Regions from separate parts of the Homo sapiens genome. Here region 1 is linked to region 2. Evidence: promoter capture Hi-C in 16 types of primary human blood cells and fetal thymus (Javierre and others, 2016). All regions are on one chromosome and are shown on one strand. The core of a region is centred on a gene start or on the middle of the fragment in contact, and the rest is flanking DNA. Distances in the headings are between cores, read along the strand shown.

What was found. The method cuts DNA at HindIII sites, captures the fragments that hold promoters and counts their contacts. A CHiCAGO score of 5 or more calls a contact.
Region 1: a contact is called between the fragment with the promoter of RNF17 here and the fragment with the promoter of PABPC3 in region 2, in 6 of 17 cell types (erythroblasts, M0 macrophages, M1 macrophages and 3 more). The highest score is 7.6, in erythroblasts.

Annotation. Positions count from the first base shown.
Region 1 is chr13:24,762,867-24,765,566 of GRCh38, forward strand. It overlaps RNF17 (ring finger protein 17), which reads left to right and starts at 1,303. Exons shown (of 36, transcript NM_031277.3): 1 at 1,303-1,467. The coding sequence starts at 1,338. The HindIII fragment of the contact is 5,895 bases long and covers 54-2,700 here.
Region 2 is chr13:25,094,559-25,097,456 of GRCh38, forward strand. PABPC3 (poly(A) binding protein cytoplasmic 3) reads left to right here and starts at 1,578. Exons shown (of 1, transcript NM_030979.3): 1 at 1,578-2,898. The coding sequence starts at 1,641. It overlaps LOC124900613 (a long non-coding RNA gene), which reads left to right and starts at 1,062. Exons shown (of 3, transcript XR_941762.3): 1 at 1,062-1,101. RefSeq lists a silencer at 1,493-1,787. The HindIII fragment of the contact is 7,788 bases long and covers 1-2,348 here.

The DNA.
Region 1 (2,700 bases), core at 53-2,552, 330 kb before region 2:
AGCCTTACACTCGAGATTCTCCGAAATTCTTCCCTGACACACCTCTCCAAAGAAGCTTACTTTAAGGAAACTCATACTCTGGCTAAATGGTCTTTAAATTCTCAAGAAGTCACTGTGTCTTCCATCTACCTTCCCTCACATCTACCTTCCCTCGCTGATGTGTTCTTTATTCTTGGAATCCCTTAGTTCTTGTTTACTCCTGTAAGTACTACCTAGGTTGTAAGGTCTAGTGCAAACCCTATATCCTCTACGAAGAGTTTTCATACCACCGTAGACCATATTGACTTCATTTCTTCATTGCTTTTTGTGAACTATGCTTGGACAAGTTGCTTCAACTCTTTTTTTTTTTTTTTTGAGACGCAGTCTCGCTCTGTCGCCCAGACTGGAGTGCAGTGGTATGATCTCGGCTCACTGCAAGCTCCGCCTCCCAGGTTCACGCCATTCTCCTGCCTCAGCCTCCCAAGTAGCTGGAACTACAGGCGCCCACCGCCACGTCCGGCTAATTTTTTTTTTTTTTTTTTTTTGTATTTTTAGTAGAGACAGGGTTTCACCATGTTAGCCAGGATGGTCTCGATCTCCTGACCTCGTGATCTGCCCGCCCTGGCCTCCCAAAGTGCTGGCATTACAGGCGTGAGCCACCGCGCCGGGCCCAGAAGGCTAATTCTTACTGTCTCTAACACAGGTCCGGTACATAACACTTATTTTGGCGGAAGTTACTGGGTTTTTTTAAGGAGTTATGTATCTCTCAAGCAGAAACCTGCTAGTTCATAAATTCTTAGCATCCCCAACCACTCTTGGCACGCTGCCTTGTATATTATTAGGCTCAACAGCAGTTAGTAATGATGAACACTCCTTAATTCGAAAGCGTTCACTGAATCTACCCCAACGATAGCTTCTCATTAGCTTCTCCACTCCAGCTGCTATTGGCCAAGCCCTGGATGCCCGAAGCACACAGGTTTAGGGCTTCTGGCCCTGACACGTAATAGGGAAAGGGGATTGTTTCAATCCAAATGATTATCTATAAAGTCACTCACAATGTAAGTAATAATATGCGAAATTTTAATTTGTGATGACTAAAAGCACTAAAGTGGTGACTCTTTGGGTAGAACGTAAAAACGAACGGTCCTCAACGGCCACAAGGCGCCCCTTCTAGGAGTGGTACCTCCCAGGATAACGGAAAACAGCCCCAGCCCCATCAGGAGCGAGCTTGGGGGCGGGCTTTAATCTCCCGGCCCACTGTTTGGCTATCTGCAGGGGCTGGCCTCCAATGATTGGTCGCTGCCGCGAGGGCCGCCGGGACTCGCACTCGGCGGTTGTTCCAGAAGAAAGAGACAGCGATGGCGGCAGAGGCTTCGAAGACTGGGCCTTCTAGGTCTTCCTACCAGCGAATGGGGAGGAAGAGTCAGCCCTGGGGTGCCGCTGAAATCCAGTGCACCAGGTGTGGAAGGAGGGTATCCAGATCATCCGGTGAGGAGCCCAAGGGCCCACCTAGCGGGGAGGCAGCCTGGAGGGAGCGCTGGGGGCCAGGTGAGCTGGTGGGCGCGTGAGGCTTGGTCAGCTGCATCCAATCCTGGTGTCACCAGAAACTGCGTCACAGGCCTCCCGCGAGCTGCACCCGACCTCTAAGAGGGCAGTGCTTGGGTTGGTTAAGGGCAGCACCTGCGCCTGTCACGGCTTTCTCCAATTACCCATCCAGGCCTCACCGACCCTCCAGCCGGGAGGATGGGGGCCCGGGTGGCTTTAATCTACTCCTCACAAGGCAGGTTAGCGGGTGCATGCAAAAGTAGACATAAAATGTAGCCCATTGTTTTGTCATCAAGAAGGAACGAAACTTGATTTTCTCCTGTAGTTTTTGTTGTAGGAGTAACAAGTAGACCATTGTGAAATGGTTTTGGATTTTGTTGTTGTTGTTAGCATTTTGTTGTTTCTGTGGGGGTTTTTTTGTTTGTTTTTTACATTATGGCTCACACTGGCCTAAAACACTGTTTGGAAAATGATAGTTTCTTTTGTGCACCTTGTGGGGTGTGTGTGTGTGTGTGTGTGTGTGTGTGTGTGTGTTGGTCTTTATACGTGAGGGGAAAAATACACTGCACTATTATTGGTCTGTTCACCTACAATCTACTCAAGTGATCACAGGTTCAAGTTATTTATTATTATTTTTTTCTTTGAGTTGGAGTCTCGCTCTGTAGCCCAGGCTGGAGTGCAGTGGCGCGATCTCGGCTCACTGCAAGCTCCGCCTCCCAGGTTCACGCCATTCTCCTGTCTCAGCCTCTGGAGTAGCTGGGACTACAGGCGCCCGCCACCACGCCCGGCTAATTTTTTGTATATTTAGTAGAGACAGGGTTTCACCGTGTTAGCCAGGATGGTCTCGATCTCCTGACCTCGTGATCCGCCCGTCTTGGCCTCCCAAAGTGCTGGGATTACAGGCGTGAGCCACCGCGCCCGGCCGGTTCAAGTTATTTTAATGTAACTTAAAATACCTTAGTGTGCTCTTAATACAGCTGAGTTGTTGAATCTCAATTCCTGGAGCTACTGAAAATTCGTATTACCTGGCGTAACTGTTTAATGTTTATACTTTCAAAGTTAAGGTCATTCGATCAGTTTTCTCAGTCTTGGCAAGATGGACTCTGTGAGATGTGAGCCTCTGCAGAAAAAGTTGTGATTTCAGTGGAGAACCAAGTTTCTCCTACTTGGGGTTTA
Region 2 (2,898 bases), core at 328-2,827:
CTACTCTAGGCTAGGCGCGGCGGCTCACGCCTGTAATCCCAGAGCTTTGGCAGGCGTAGGTGGGCGGATCACCTGAGGTCAGGAATTCTAGACCAGCCTAGCCAACAAGGCGAAACCCCGTTTCTACTAAAAACAATACAAAAATTAGCCAGGCGTGGTAGTGCCTGCCTGTAATCCCAGCTATTCGGGAGGCTGAGGCGCTAGAATCCCTTGAACCCGGGAGGTGGAGGTTGCGGTGAACCAAGATCGCACCACTGCACTACAGCCTGGGTGACAGAACGAGACTCTATCTAAACAAACAAACAAACAAAAAACCCTAAAATAAATTATTTGTAACATGAACAGAATGAACAGATCCTCCCCCAAACTGATATTTTTTGTGGGACTGGACCTTTCTTAAAGGATTTTCTTAAATAGAATTATTTCAGATCATCACTTACTTAGATGTGTAGCTATATTAGGTCACAAGATTGTGTACTTATAATCATAAAACGTATACTTAATAATGAATCCCAACCTGACCTCAAAAGACTATATCATATAATACTATATTAACATTACATATTTATTGGTCGGGCACGGTGGCTTACGCCTGTAATCCCAGCACTTTGGGAGGCCGAGGTGGGTGGATCACGAGGTCAGGAGTTCAAGATCAGCCTGGCCAAGATGGTGAAACCCCGTCTCTACTAAAAATACAAAAAATTAGCCAGGCTTGGTGGTGGGTGCCTGTAATCCCAGCTACTTTAGAAGCTGAGGCAGGAGAATCGCTTGAACCTGGGAGGTGGAGGTTGCAGTGAGCCGAGATCGCACCACTGCACTCCAGCCTGGGTGACAGAGCAAAACTCCGTCTCAAAAATAAATAAGTAAAATAAAAATAAATAAATGAAAAATAAAATTACATATTTATTATGTTTTATATTGTTATATAATATAAAAAGTCGGTTTTTCGGGGTTTTTTGTTTGTTTGTTTGTTTGTTTGAGATAGTCTCGCTCTGTCACCCAGACTAGAGGGCAGTGGCGCGATCTCTGCTCACTGCAACCTCCACCTCCCGGGTTCAAGCGATTCTCGTGCCTAGGCCTCCCGAGTAGCTGGGATTACAGGTGAGCACATCAAGCCCAGCTAATTTTTTGTAATTTTAGTAGAGACGAGGTAAAAAGTAGAAAATATTTTATAAAAATATATTTGTGTAAAGTAGAACATATATAAAAACATACTAAAGGAGAAAGGAGAAAAAAATTCTTTCATTTATTTTTTTCCCAGGCATTTTAAATTTGGATTATAAAAATCATTTTAGAAAAATCATTAATGCTCTTTTACAAAATAACCCGGTGAAGCAGCTGAGCCCGAGCCGCCCGCCAGCGGCCCCGCAGCAGCTCCAAGAAGGAACTAAGAGACCAAGGCCTTCCTGCTGCCCGGACCCGACACCGCTACCCTGGCTCCCCGCCGGCAGCCGGCAGCCAGCGGCAGCGGATCGACCCCGTTCTGCGGCCGTTGAGTAGTTTTCGATTTCGGCTGATTTTTGTCCCTCTGCGCTTGCCCCCGCTCCCCTCCCTCCGGCTACGCCCCCGGCCCCGGCACGCGCTCTACTCCTGTAACGGAAAGGTCGCGGCTTGTGTGCCTGCGGGCAGCCGTGCCGAGAATGAACCCCAGCACCCCCAGCTACCCAACGGCCTCGCTCTACGTGGGGGACCTCCACCCCGACGTGACTGAGGCGATGCTCTACGAGAAGTTCAGCCCGGCAGGGCCCATCCTCTCCATCCGGATCTGCAGGGACTTGATCACCAGCGGCTCCTCCAACTACGCGTATGTGAACTTCCAGCATACGAAGGACGCGGAGCATGCTCTGGACACCATGAATTTTGATGTTATAAAGGGCAAGCCAGTACGCATCATGTGGTCTCAGCGTGATCCATCACTTCGAAAAAGTGGAGTGGGCAACATATTCGTTAAAAATCTGGATAAGTCCATTAATAATAAAGCACTGTATGATACAGTTTCTGCTTTTGGTAACATCCTTTCGTGTAACGTGGTTTGTGATGAAAATGGTTCCAAGGGTTATGGATTTGTACACTTTGAGACACACGAAGCAGCTGAAAGAGCTATTAAAAAAATGAACGGAATGCTCCTAAATGGTCGCAAAGTATTTGTTGGACAATTTAAGTCTCGTAAAGAACGAGAAGCTGAACTTGGAGCTAGGGCAAAAGAGTTCCCCAATGTTTACATCAAGAATTTTGGAGAAGACATGGATGATGAGCGCCTTAAGGATCTCTTTGGCAAGTTCGGGCCCGCCTTAAGTGTGAAAGTAATGACCGATGAAAGTGGAAAATCCAAAGGATTTGGATTTGTAAGCTTTGAAAGGCATGAAGATGCACAGAAAGCTGTAGATGAGATGAATGGAAAGGAGCTCAATGGAAAACAAATTTACGTTGGTCGAGCTCAGAAAAAAGTGGAACGGCAGACGGAACTTAAGCGCACATTTGAACAGATGAAGCAAGATAGGATCACCAGATACCAGGTTGTTAATCTTTATGTGAAAAATCTTGATGATGGTATTGATGATGAACGTCTCCGGAAAGCGTTTTCTCCATTTGGTACAATCACTAGTGCAAAGGTTATGATGGAAGGTGGTCGCAGCAAAGGGTTTGGTTTTGTATGTTTCTCCTCCCCAGAAGAAGCCACTAAAGCAGTTACAGAAATGAACGGTAGAATTGTGGCCACAAAGCCATTGTATGTAGCTTTAGCTCAGCGCAAAGAAGAGCGCCAGGCTTACCTCACTAACGAGTATATGCAGAGAATGGCAAGTGTACGAGCTGTGCCCAACCAGCGAGCACCTCCTTCAGGTTACTTCATGACAGCTGTCCCACAGACTCAGAACCATGCTGCATACTATCCTCCTA